3 separate regions of the Homo sapiens genome follow, and all the other regions are linked to region 1. The links are contacts of gene promoters, found by promoter capture Hi-C in blood cells and fetal thymus (Javierre and others, 2016). All regions are on one chromosome and are shown on one strand. Each heading gives the region's core, a stretch centred on a gene start or on the middle of the fragment in contact. The rest is flanking DNA. Distances are from core to core; before and after follow the strand shown.

The links. The method cuts DNA at HindIII sites, captures the fragments that hold promoters and counts their contacts. A CHiCAGO score of 5 or more calls a contact.
Region 2: a fragment that was not itself captured here is called in contact with the fragment with the promoter of IGSF8 in region 1 in 1 of 17 cell types (M1 macrophages); the score reaches 6.2 in M1 macrophages.
Region 3: the fragment with the promoter of USF1 here is called in contact with the fragment with the promoter of IGSF8 in region 1 in 2 of 17 cell types (fetal thymus and naive CD4 T cells); the score reaches 7.2 in fetal thymus.

The regions. Positions count from the first base shown.
Region 1 is chr1:160,096,570-160,100,611 of GRCh38, forward strand. IGSF8 (immunoglobulin superfamily member 8) reads right to left here and starts at 2,050. Exons shown (of 7, transcript NM_052868.6): 1 at 1,840-2,050. The coding sequence starts at 1,903. RefSeq lists enhancers at 1-182, 183-711, 712-1,238 and a silencer at 1,805-2,634. The HindIII fragment of the contact is 5,064 bases long and covers 1-3,853 here.
Region 2 is chr1:160,620,037-160,624,113 of GRCh38, forward strand. SLAMF1 (signaling lymphocytic activation molecule family member 1) reads right to left here. Exons shown (of 7, transcript NM_003037.5): 4 at 4,060-4,077. Among named protein-coding and RNA genes, the nearest start is that of SLAMF1, 25 kb to the right of the region's middle. The HindIII fragment of the contact is 1,693 bases long and covers 490-2,182 here.
Region 3 is chr1:161,042,887-161,047,405 of GRCh38, forward strand. It overlaps USF1 (upstream transcription factor 1), which reads right to left and starts at 3,091. Exons shown (of 11, transcript NM_007122.5): 1 at 2,972-3,091; 2 at 382-474. The coding sequence starts at 389. It overlaps ARHGAP30 (Rho GTPase activating protein 30), which reads right to left. Exons shown (of 12, transcript NM_001025598.2): 12 at 4,060-4,519. RefSeq lists enhancers at 1,891-2,120, 2,180-3,060, 2,659-3,858, 2,971-3,450, 3,061-3,941. The HindIII fragment of the contact is 1,293 bases long and covers 2,228-3,520 here.

The DNA of each region.
Region 1 (4,042 bases), core at 800-3,299:
CCCCACCCCTGCTTCTGGGCTCCTAGCCCCTTCCTTCATCCTCTGGCTGGGTCACAGGGAGAACTCATGGTCTGTTGTTAAGGGCACAGCTGCCAGTCAGGAAGTGGGATTCCAGCACCATCCCCATGCCCAGCTGTGTGGCCTGGGATCCAGTCTCTTTCTGTCCTAGGCCTCAGTTTCCACACTGGAGGAGAACTAAGAGCTCCAGCTCTGACCATGTGTGAGTGCGTATGTGACTCAGGAGAGCCCTGCCCCAGGCCAGGCAAGTTTCATAATCAGAGTGACGGTGGAGACAGCCAAGCTGACACCTTCCCTGACTGCCTCAGGGCAGACTGCTCAGAAGGCCCCCTCCCATTTTCCTGGCTCCACAACTGCTGATGCTTGGAGATGCCCATGGGAAAGTCACCTCCACAGCCTTAGGAAATCAGTTGCCACACAGCTCTCTCTCCCCTCCTCTGTATCAGTCGCAGCAAGGAAAGGGACAGCAAAGAGGCCTGCTTTGGAATCAGATCTGTGTTCAAATCCTAGCCCCAACACTCACTAAATGTGCTCTCTGGGGCAAGTTACTTCATTTTCCTCATTTGTGAAATGAATGTAAGTGCCCACAGGCAGTGGGTGCTCAGACCTCTGCGTGCTCCTTTTTCAAACACAGGCCAGCACTTCCCCACCTCCCTGGGCTCCTCCCTGCTCCATGCTGCCCACTGGGGAAAACACACCAAGTGCTAGGCAACCCAGGCCCCACAGCGCCTTCCTCTCTGTACATCCTCCTGCCACCTGCCCAGGGACCAGGGAGAGGACTCATCCTAACCCTGCAGGGCCCAGGGACCTGCAGCAGGGGAAGGCTTTGCTTGGTGCCACTGTGGAGCTCTGGTCTAGAAACAGGCAGCTGGGGCTACCTTCAGCCTCTGCCTTGACGACAGCAGCTCTGAAGTCACCATCCCCACCCCCACGCTTCACTCTCATTTCAAGGGCTTCAGCCTCATCAACATCTGTACTGGCAGTTTCACTGTCTCCATGCCATACTCTTCCCCAGACCACCTCCTACAGGGAGCCCTCCAGTTCAGGCCAAAAACAATTCCACTGTCATTATCCCCATGCATCCATGCAAGATTGGCCCAGAACACCCCACCATGAACACCCACCACAGCAGGCACAAGGTGCTTGGAGATCCCAGGATCAGTCTCCATGGAACCTGGTTTCTCCTGAGGCAAGGAAGCTGGAACTAAGCGGTGTGAAAACTGATGGGTGGCTGCAGAGCCAAGTGCCATTTGGGAGACAGGAAGAAGGGCAAAGAGGGACCCAACCCAGGGTGGAGATGGGGGTGAGAGAGGGAACTGCCCCCAGTTGATGAAGTGCGTGGAGCGCAACTGGGAGAGACTTACTTCAAAGATCGTGGGCAGAACTGGCCTCTGGGCCTCCAGCCAACTCTGGGGCAATTATGAAGCTGGGCAGGCACTGCCCTCGTAGGGCGGGCACCCAAGGCCAGGCCTGGAGCTGAGTGTGGGGCAGAAAGGAGTCGCAGCATTTGGTGCAGCGACCCCAGTACGTGGGTATGCTAGCTGAGATGTGTGGCCTGCCCCGGGAGGCCGAGCAGTGCCTGGGGCAGCACCTTAGTGGGTCCTCTCTACGCCCCAGTCCCTGGCTTAGAGCTGGGGAGCCTGCACTCTTCCCAAGACTGGCTCGGCGGACAGCCACAAAGCGCAGCTGGACGCCGACCCCGGGGAGGCTGGAGGTACCCCTGACGGAGGAGGATGTGAGGAGCCCCGAAATGCTAGGGGGGTGCTGGATGGCAGGCACCTGCCCGGCAGGGCCGGGAACCGGAACGGGGGCCTGGCTTACCTAGCATTAGCAGCAGCAGCAGCGGCAGCGAAGGCGGCAGCAGCGTGGGCCTGAGGGCGCCCATCCTGCGCGGCCAGCTCTGGGGAGGCTCCGGGGGATGGCGCGGGTTCTGGGGGGCCGGAAGGGTGGGGGGCGCATGCCCAGGTTGAGGGCAGGAAGCGGGGCAGCGAGGCGTGGGTGCGCCGAGCGAGCTGAACTGGAGCTGCCGAATCCCCTCCCTCCGCCCCTCCCGCTGCTTTCCCTCCAGCCCTCGGCAGTTCTGAAACCATTCTCGCCCCGGCCCGCCCCGGCACCGCCCCTTCCACCGCCCCGTCTAGGCCCGCCCCGCCCCGGACCCAGCCTTGGCCCTGCCTGCCCCACCCCCGCCAGACTCCGGCCTTTGCTCCGCACCTGGCCCCGGCCCCGCCCCGCCCCTCGAAACTCACCTTTGAGTCGCATCGAGTCCCAGCCCCGCCCCGGCCCCGCCCCTCCCCGCCCCGCCCCGCCAAGACTCCAGCCCTGGATCCGCCCCGGGCCTCGGCCCAGCCCCAGTTCCGGCCCCTCCCCCGCCCCGCCCCACCAGGACTACAGTCGGACTCCAATCCTGGCTCCTCCCCGGGCCCCGGCCCCGCCCCAGTCCCAAGCCGCACCCCTTCCCCGTCCCCGCAGGGCTAACGTCAGCCTCCAATCCTGGCTCCGCCCTGGACCCCGGCCTCGCCCCGCCCCTGGCCCTGGCTCCGCCCGAGGCCCCCGCAGGAGTGAGCTAACTGCACCTCTGCGCATCGAAATTCCCACCCACCCTCGCACAGAGCGCATTCCACCCCGCACCTGCCAGCCTTTCCTGGAGAGTTGGGTGCAGGGTCCCTGGGATTGGCGAGGTGACTGTGACCACGCATTTAGAATTCAGTTATTTGCTCTGAGCCATAGTCCTCGCTGCAAACCCTGCTGAAGTAGGGGTTGGCGGAAGCCAGGAGTTCCTGAATGCGAAGGGTTTGAGCTGAAGGGCGCTTCCAGGATCCAGAAGGTCACTGGAGACCTGTTTTTCACCCCCTCAGAGGGCAAAACCAAAAGAAAAATGGATTAGGAGAGGGGGCCGTCCATGTGACGTCATTTCTGGGTTGGGTGATCCTAGCCCAGTTGTTTAACCTCCTTCAACTTCAGTTTTCTCCTCTGCAAATTGAATTGAGGTTGATCACATCACCCAAAGGGTTATTGTGATGATAGGTAATGTACATAAAGTGTTTGGCACAGGAAACTAACACAAAATGGGAGATAAGGATTATTTTGTTTTAGGTTTTGAATTATTATTTGAACTGCTTCCTAAGAGGCTTAGTTTAGACCTGGCATTTAGGTGAAGGAGTCTCTATGTTCAGTGACAGTGGGAAGAGATGAACATTGCTCTGTTCTAGGAAGAGTGGGGCTTGCCCTGGAGGTGGGAGAATGGAGGAGGCACCCTTCCCAGGTGCTCTGTCTCTTCCTGAACTGTAAAGATGGGAAGTGGGCAGGGGCAGGAAGGATGAGACCAGAATGGGGAGAAGAGATGGCCAGGTTTGCAAAGCCAAGGCTGTCAGAGTGGCTGTCAGTGGGAGGTGACCCCAGAGCCCATTTACCACCCTCTACCCTCCAACATCCTCCCTCTCCCCTCTCATCCCCCTTCCCTCCCACTCACTCACCCCCCTTTACAGAAGAGGAAACTGAGGCCCAGAGAGGGTAAGTGGCACAGGCCAGACCAGACCTTCCTTGACATGGTATTCCTCAAGCGTGGCACAGTGCCTGACTCTGAGAAGATGCTCACGGGGTTGCCAGTAGAAGCCACATTGAGGAACCCTGGAGAAACCAGAGAAACTGAGGCCTTGAAGGGAGATCAGAGGTCCAGCCCTCACTTCCCAGGACTGCCAGCACTGGCCCATGAACAGGGCAATAAGGTGCCTGTTTATTCCCACTTTGAAATATCCAGAAGGTTGCTCCAGAACCTCATCATCTAAATCCATCCACAGGCATATCGAGCTATGTGAAAACTGAAACTCATAGGGGAAGCTTTTGGAAGAATACGTCTCTCCCTTTATAATGGATTTAATTATCGAGTGGATTTAATGCCTTCATGATGCTTGAGGGATGAAAGATGTTACCAATTGTAATAATGATAGATGTCATTTATGAAATGCTTACACAAGAAGGCCCTTTTGGATATTAGTCCTAGTCCTTATAGCATATTTTGCAAGGT
Region 2 (4,077 bases), core at 86-2,585, 520 kb after region 1:
CCTATCTGTGAAATGGGATTTGAAATACCTGCCTCACGGGGCTGTTGTGATAATTAAATGAGATACCACTTGTAAAGTGTTTAGAACACTGCCTGGTGCATAACAAATGCCCAATACGCATTAGGTGTTTTTCTCATTGGTGTACCATTCAATTACTTTAATCTCTGTTGCTCAATGTGCATATCTGGTCTCCTAATAGGATTCTAAGTTCTTTGAGGGCAGGGCTAGTTGTTTATACCTCTTTTGTATTTTCCAGCTGGTAGTATGTTGCTTCACTCACAGCTTTCTCACCTCCCTATTTCTGGGGGAATTGATGTGTGGGAGGTAAGGGCGGGGGGACGTGTAAGAGGGATGTTCCACCTGGGACTATTTAGAAAATAAAGCAACAATGTCATTCTGTTGCCCACCATCTGGAAATTTTGCTCAGGGCCTAGGGTCTCTGGAAATTAATAAGTTGCAGAATATTTTAATTTTTAGCCAATTTTAAAAAGCTTTCTTTTTAAATTATAGGAGTAATTTATTCTCATCATAAAATAAAAATTGTGAAGAAATATATAAAGTATAAAGTAAAAAGTATAAATCCCCTTCTTCCATTAACCAACCCAATTTCATTCCCAAAAGAAACCGTATTTTTCAATACCTGTGAAAAGAAGTGGGAAAAAAAAGAAGAAACCATTTTTAAAAGTTTGATGTATATCCCTGTAGATCAGCTCTGTGCAACAGAACTTTCTGAGATGATGGAAATGTTCCATATCTGCAGTGTCTAATACAGCTTACAGACACGGGGCTATGGAGCACCTGAACTGTGACTAATGTCACTGAATTTTAAATTTTATTTAATTCAAATTAATTTAAATTTAAAAAGCCACATGTGGCTAGTGACTACCATATTAGACAATGCAGTTTTGGATATTTGCTATACTTATATAGACTTTTTTCCACACAAGAGGTGTCATTCTGCACACACTTCTCTGTAACTTGATCTTTTCACTTAAAATGTATTGAGGACATTTTTCATGTTAGCACAGTAGACCTATCTCATTCTTTCTAAAGTTGCACAGTATCCTTTGTATACATCATGCAGCAGTAAGGATGGTGGGAAAGTGGCAGACTGAAGGATGGAGGTTTATTATGGGATTATTGCAAAGTCCAGGCAGAGGCAATGGAGGCTGGACCCAGAAAATCACAGCCTTTAAGGTAGACTTATTTTAACACCAGTTAATTTATTCTCTTAAAAAACTGGGCTGGGTGCAGTGGCTCACGCCTATAATCACAGCACTATGGGAGGCTGAGGTGGGCAGATCACGAGGTCAGGAGTTTGAGACCAGCCTGGCCAACATGGGGAAACCCTGTCTCTACTAAAAATACAAAAATTAGCCAGGCATGGTGGCACGCGCTTATAATTTCAGCTACTCAGGAGGCTGAGACAGAAGAACTGCTTGAGCCCAGGAGACAGAGGTTGCAGTGAGCCGAGATCATGCCATTGCACTCCAGCCTGAGTGACAGAGCAAGAATCTATCTCAAAAAAAAAAAAAAAAAAAAAAAGGCACATCTCTGAGGAAATAGCATTTTTAGGAGAGGCACATTTTTCTTTGGAAGGGAAAGGCCCAGTGTGTATGTGGTGAGCATGGTGGAATGTGCTGCGTGAGGGTGTGAGTCTTGGGGAGGAAATGTGGGGCAGACACTGATGAAGTTCCAGGAATTCAAGGAAAGTCAACATGGGATTTTTTGTGTGTGGGTATGAGCACGGTGTGCCTAGTGGTTTCAACTTCGCTTTTTTGGTCAGAGTTGATCCTGACTGAGGAGTGTGCGTGAGTGCGTGTGTGTGTGTGTGTGTGTGTGTGTGTGTGTAAAATGGAGGGGAGGACTCAAGAAGCAGTTGGAGGTAGCAGAGGAGGTTCAAGTTAGTCCCCACGAGTGTTTGCAAAGTAAGACATGCCTGCCCAGCACTCTCCTAGGTGCTGTAGTGGCTACAAATAGAGTAGAGAACAGACTACAGTCCTCAAAGACTTTCAGTCTTGCAGGTCAGCTCAGAGTCAAATGTAGAACTGGAAGGACAGTCCTAAATGGTCAGACAGATGGAAGAGGTGAGGTTGATTGTTGCTGCTTAAAAGGACCATTGGACCAAGATAATTTAGTCTCAGGTTATTTTCCCCAGTGCAAGAACAGGTTTTTAGGAGTAAGCTTAACTCGGCTCCAAGTCAGCAAGGTCTTAGGCTCTAAGGAAAAAGTCTTGGCCTTAAAATTAGGACATCTACATTGTAGCCATCATTAGCTGTGTGGCATTGGACAAATCACGTCATCTCAATGGGTCTTTTCTCTTACCATAACTGTAAAATGAGGGCATAGAGTATCTAATATCCTTTTCAGCTTTTACCTGAAGCATAAAGTCTTATGTTACCATGACTTAAAATATTTTCAATCTGTTCTAGGTATTGTTTCCAGATGCTTCCAGTGCAGCTTCTCCTGGCCATAGCACTTACACATTGCCATTTTAATTCATCTACACTAAGAGATCTGTCTATCTGTCTATGTATCTATCTGTCTATGTATCTATCTATCTATCACCCATCGATGGGAACCACTGTGTTCAGTGTTTTCTGTGTATTGATACCAATCTCCACCACAATACCATGAAGTACATAGTATTACCCCTGTTTTGCAGACGAGAAGTTAAGTCATTTGATCACACAGCTTGTCAGTAGCAAAATCTGCATCTGAATGTAAGTTTGTCTAATGCCTATACCCACATTCTTTATCAGTGTATTCTCCTGGACATGAAATTGCCAAAGAGTCATGAAATTGAAAAGCCTTCAGCGTCAGGCTGCATTCTGATGATTATAGCATTAGAAGCTGCCAATATAATTTCTTTAGCAAGGTTTTATGAAAGGTGCAGCAACTAAATATAAATTTTACCGCAAGTTTGAGGCAGTTTTGTGTGTTGCTAACTTACAAGGGACAAATGGTGAATGGGGTTGAGGTGAGGATGGGTATGTGTGTTGGGGAAGGTAGTGGGGAATTGTGGGATGGGGAGCACTATTCCCTTAGAGCACAACCATGTGATAAGCCAAGTGTGGTTGAGGAAAGAGTATGGCGTAGGATCCCAGCAATTTTACTAGGTAGGTTAATGTGGATAAGTTAAGTTCAGTTTTCTCATCCTGGGTCATCTCACTATTTCCTTATAGTATGAGCTAAATGTGATTGCCCTACCCCGAGCCCCATAGGCTGTCAACCTAATTTCTATCTGAATCACCCATCCCTCCTACCTGGCTAACTCTTAGATGGAGGAAATGAGACACAAGTAGGTCGCTGTGCTATGATCTAGATTTTTTTATATATGCAAAACCAACATCAGAGTGCTGAGGTAAGGGCTTTTCTAAGAAGGTTGTGTGTAGATGACACTGATCTACTTGAGAATGAAATCAGTCATCAGCTCAGTGTTATGAGGATCAAGTTCTATCCTTACCATGGGAAGGCAGCCGGGGCATCTCTCCTGGTCTTGGGTCAGGACATTTTGACTCCAGTATTGGTTGGTAGTAGTCAAGGTGGCTGAGGGGAGCACAATGCCCTGAGATATTGTATCATAGGGAAATTTGGAAGAGAGGACAGGGGATGGTACCTCTAGGCACTTCAACTGCAGGGGAATAATTGTGCCTTATTGGTTTCATTCTAACCCTGGTGACTTTTTGGATGAGATCCAATAATTTTCTGAATTCTGTTCCCAGTGAATACTCTTAAACCTCTTGTTCACTTCTTCAGCATCCTGTGTTTACCCTGATGGCAGTGCTAGTCACACTAAACTGAAATTATCTGAATAATGTCTCTCACATTAGAAACCTGTGGCTCTTCTATTTCTTTCCACAGCCTAGTAGAGGGGATCAAGACATGTTGAATTAGACTGAATTAAGCAAGGTCCCAGGATATGTTTATCTACTATTTTTGCAAAGGTGGCCCCATGCAGAAAGCCAGAGTTGTGAGAGCAAGTCCGAGCCTGTGGAGAGAGGTCCCCTGCTTACCACAGAGAGTGTGATAAGAATCTATTTATTGCCAGACACCTACCTCTTCTTCTCAACTGTA
Region 3 (4,519 bases), core at 1,841-4,340, 950 kb after region 1:
TTGTGGTGAAAGGACAAAAGGAAGAGTATGAGAAGAAGTCAATGAGAAGCTCACTGGCCCAGTAACATATGGCTGCAAACTCATTGGCATTCCCAACAGAAGCTGGGTTAGGTTAGAATAACAACTAGTGTTTACTGTTTACTATGTACATAAGCACTAAGCTAAGTACATTACATGTAATCTTATTTAGTACTAAAAACAGCACCACGAGATAGATAGCACTACTTCCATTTTATAGATAGAGAAACCAAATCACACAGTAAGTGATAGAGTAGAACCTGAATCCAGGTCTGCCTGACTCCAGAGGCAGTGCTCTTGGTCATTTTGCATTCTTCCAGGCCACCCATCTTTCATCCCAGACCCTACCTCTTCTTCACTCACCCCTTCATCTCTCTGTGAGGGGGCACATCCGAGGAACTGGTCCTTTTTTGGAGGTCTTTGTATCTCCTGATTCACAGGCCTGAGTGCTAAGTCCTGGTAGAAATCATGAAGTTTGCAATGAGTTTAGGAAACAGAACAGTATCTCTGGTTCTAGAACTTAGGTTCCATGAACACATAGCCAGGAAAATAACCCAGTCATCTGCAGGGGACAATCAGCCTCCACCATACTGATGTTGAGGACTGGCCTACAGTGATTGAAAAAGCAAGGCTACAAATAGTGTTCCCCATCCCTCCATTATCACTCCAACTCCTGGTGGAGAGTGGATAATTATACTGGAAGACAGAAACAACACTTTTTTTTTTTTTTTTTTTTTGAGACAGAGTCTCTCTCTGTCACCCAGGCTGGAGTGCAGTGGCGCGATCTCAGCTCACTGCAACCTCTGCCTCCCAGGTTCAAGTGATTCTCCTGCCTCAGCCTCCGGAGTAGCTGGGATTACAGGTGCACACCACCACGCCTGGCTAATTTTTGTATTTTTAGTAGAGACGGGGTTTCACCATGTTGGCCCGGCTGGTCTCGAACTCCTGAGAGCATGATCTGTCCACCTCGGCAGCCTCCCAAAGTGCTGGGATTACAGGTGTGAGCCACTGCACCTGGCCGAAACAACACATTTCTTTCTTTTTTTTTTTTTTTTTTCTGAGACAGAATCTTGCTCTGTCACCCAGGCTGGAGTGCAGTGGCACAATCTCGGCTTACAACCTCCATCTCCTGGGTTCAAGTGATTCTCCTGCCTCAGCCTCCTGAATAGCTGGGATTATAGGTGCCCACCACCACGCCCAGCTAATTTTTGTATTTTCAGTAGAGATGGGGTTTTACCATATTGGCCAGGCTGGTCTGGAACTCCTGACCTCAGGTGATCCGCCTGCCTCGGCCTCCCAAAGTGCTTGGATTACAGGCATGAGCCACCGCACCCAGCCAACAACACATCTCTAAATGGATCATTAAAGCTATTATGACCTGCCATGATGGCAGCTTCATGGGAATCAGGAAGGGCCATGTATTGGCCCCACCATCAAAAAATACAGTGTCATGGACACTGATGCTTCTTCCAGTTTCTCAGCCACATGTTGTCCATCAAGACATTTCTGTTTTCAAACCTAGGAAGAGGAAATCTGAAGCCCACTACCACTGGAAGAATATCCCTGACCACAAAGACTAGACTTGGCATTTGGGCCCCATTCTACTGACAGGACTCTTGTTTTGGGGTATCCAGATTTATATAATCTGTTAGAAACCCTAAAGCCCAAGTGGATCCTCTTCAAGCATTCTCTATTTTATTCATCAAGCCTTCCTGCAGAACAACACTGTTGCTAAAATGTTGCTATGACAACTCCAAATCAACTAAGCCTGAGCAAGAAGGGGTAAAAAAAAAAAAAACAGGGTTCTGAAGAAGAGACAAAGGGGGAAGAATCCACCTACAAGCTCTGCCTTAGGACCCTGACACCCAGCCAGAGGGCAGGAAAAACAAAGAGCTGGGCAGACATGCCTCCAGAAAGAAACAGCTACACAGTACAAAGCAATAAGATAATCCCAACACAAAAGGGGCAAGATTTTTGGAAATTCTCTACCCATAAGGTCCTCCAAACCTTTCCTATCCAAGGAAAATTTTCAATGGATAAGCCTCGGAAAGACCGCGTCCGAGGAAAATGTTGAAAAAGGAACTGAAAGTGAAACCGTACAGACGAAGTAACGCTGCAAGGAGATCCCAGTCGATAAGGGGAAGTAGCACTAGTGTTTTGGGACCACCTACATTTCCATCTTCAAACCTGAAGAGGAAATGCCCTGCGAAGCTTGCCGCGCTGACTGCAGGGGAAGGCAATGAAATAGAGGGCCCGGCACAGGAGGCATCTCTATTGGCCACAGCTGTCAGCCGGGGCAGTCTCTGAGGACACCCAGCAACGGGGTCAGGGTACTTATTCAAATCTTAGTTGGACATCCGGAAGCATTTCCTAGGCATTAGGGATCGGTGACACGGAAACAGGGATGGGACGTTGTGGTGTGCACGCTCAGGCCAGAAGGGCCCAGTAAGAGCCCTTGCTAAGTCTGGACACAAAGGGAAAAAAAATCAACTCCCGAAAGAAGTCAGGCACCTAGACCTTGCCTTAGAATGAGGCGTCTCCCTGCAGGCTCACCAACCAGAAGGCGCTTACGGAGCTGAGCGCCCGCCAGGCGCGAGCCCGGGAGCCTGCGCCGTGACCCCGCAGCCCCGCAGTCTTAGCCCCGCGCCCCAGCTGCTCCGCGGAGGAGGCAGGAAAGGGCCTCGGGGACTAGGGAGCTCAAGCGCCCGGTGCCGGCGGCTGCGGCGCGCAGCTGGACAGCGCAGGAGGGCTGGGACGCTCGCGCTCTGGGGAAGGGAGAGAGTTTGGCCCACAAAGCAGGGTATGAGATAAAGAACCAGCACAGCCCCCTCCCCCAAAACAAAGGCTTCCTCCCCAGCAGTGTTCTCTAACTTGAAAAACGGAAACAAAATCAAAGCTGCCCTGCCTTGCCAGTCCACCCAGTTTCCAGACTTCTGCCCGGTCCTACACTCACCGGCCAAGGCCGTCTCAGCTGCCGATTTTCTCCAACTGTGTTCTCCCTCTCCCGGCCTAGGTATCTCCATAGACAGCTGCTCATGCGCACTTCCAGCCCGCGGCCATGTTGGTGAGGGGCGGAAGTGTCGCTCTCGCCCCGCCCATAAACTCAAACTCAGAACTGCCCCACTTCCGCTCACTCCATCTTGATGAGAGTTGGTGTTTGTGGGTTATTTGTGAAGCCGGAAAGAAGCCGTGTCCTGGAGAATGTAGCTGAAGGCCTGGCCACTTTCGACAAGAACGGGAAAGAGACGACTAACTTGTACTAATATCTTAGTGCTTGGCAGGGCATTTTTTCATTCCAGGAAAGAAGAGAATCCAGCTGAGATCAAGGGAGGGACGTCCGACGGAGGCGCCATCTTTAACAAGGGCTATTTGGGAGGCCATCTTGGCGCAGGGCGTCTTTTTGAAAGGTTACCTGCTAGAGATTACGACCTATCGGGGCATGCATAGAATTGGATATGTTCCTTGTTATTCGCGTCAGCAGTCACTCATCCAAAGACCCCAAAGCTTCTAGTGTTCTAAAGGCTCACACCTTCTGTGACAGGAATCTTGATTCCCATTCTTCTCAATCAAGACCTACCCTGAATGGATTTGGAGTAGTGTGGTATAATGGGAAAAATTCAAGCTTGGGGGCCAGGCAGATCCAGGTTTCAAACCCATCTCTGCCACTTCTTACCTCTGAGACCTTTGGCAAACATTTTGACTTAATTGAGCCTTAGTTTCCTCATCTATAAACTGGAGATACTAGCACCAACCTTCCAGAATTGTGTGGATTAAATAAAATCAAGGACATAGATTTTGTGAGCACAGGATACTTAGTCCAGTTCCTGGCACATAATGAACGCATTATGTAAATATAAGTTTCTCTTCCTTATTTCCTGACCACCATGAACCTAGCTCTAGTTTCTGGCCACTAGTCTCCATGACAACAACTGAGGAAGAGCACCCAAACAAGAAGAAGAAAAAGAATGTTTTGCCAAATATGTGAAGATATAATACCTATCACCAAAGACTTTAATAAGAATAATGAGACTCCACACTATGTGTAAAAATACAGCTTTTATTCTGAGACATTGACCTTCACTAGAGTGGGACCTGTGGCCCCAGCCTGGCTGGAGAAGCAGTCCCAGGGCCTGAGTGACACCATTTCCCTTTCCTGAAATAGGAACAAGTTATTCCAAAGGAGAAAGGAGAGCCCAGAGAGATCTGTACAGGACCTCTCTTGCACATGGTGACTGGAGGCAGAGGGTGGGGAGCTGGAGAGGAGTCCAGTCCCTCCAACAAATATTGAGGGCTTCAAAGAGCTCTTCCTGGACGTTTCTCTTAATCTGGATTTAAAAGGGACAGGAGGTATCTTAGGGTCCAAGAACATAACAGGAATGGGCAACTCTAGAAGTGTTTGTGTGTGGAAGGCCCTAACCTGGCCCTGTCCTCCCTGTCTCTACCTTTGGCTTTCATGAAGAGAGATTCACAGCTCAGAGGAAGGGAGGAATTTCTCCAGTCT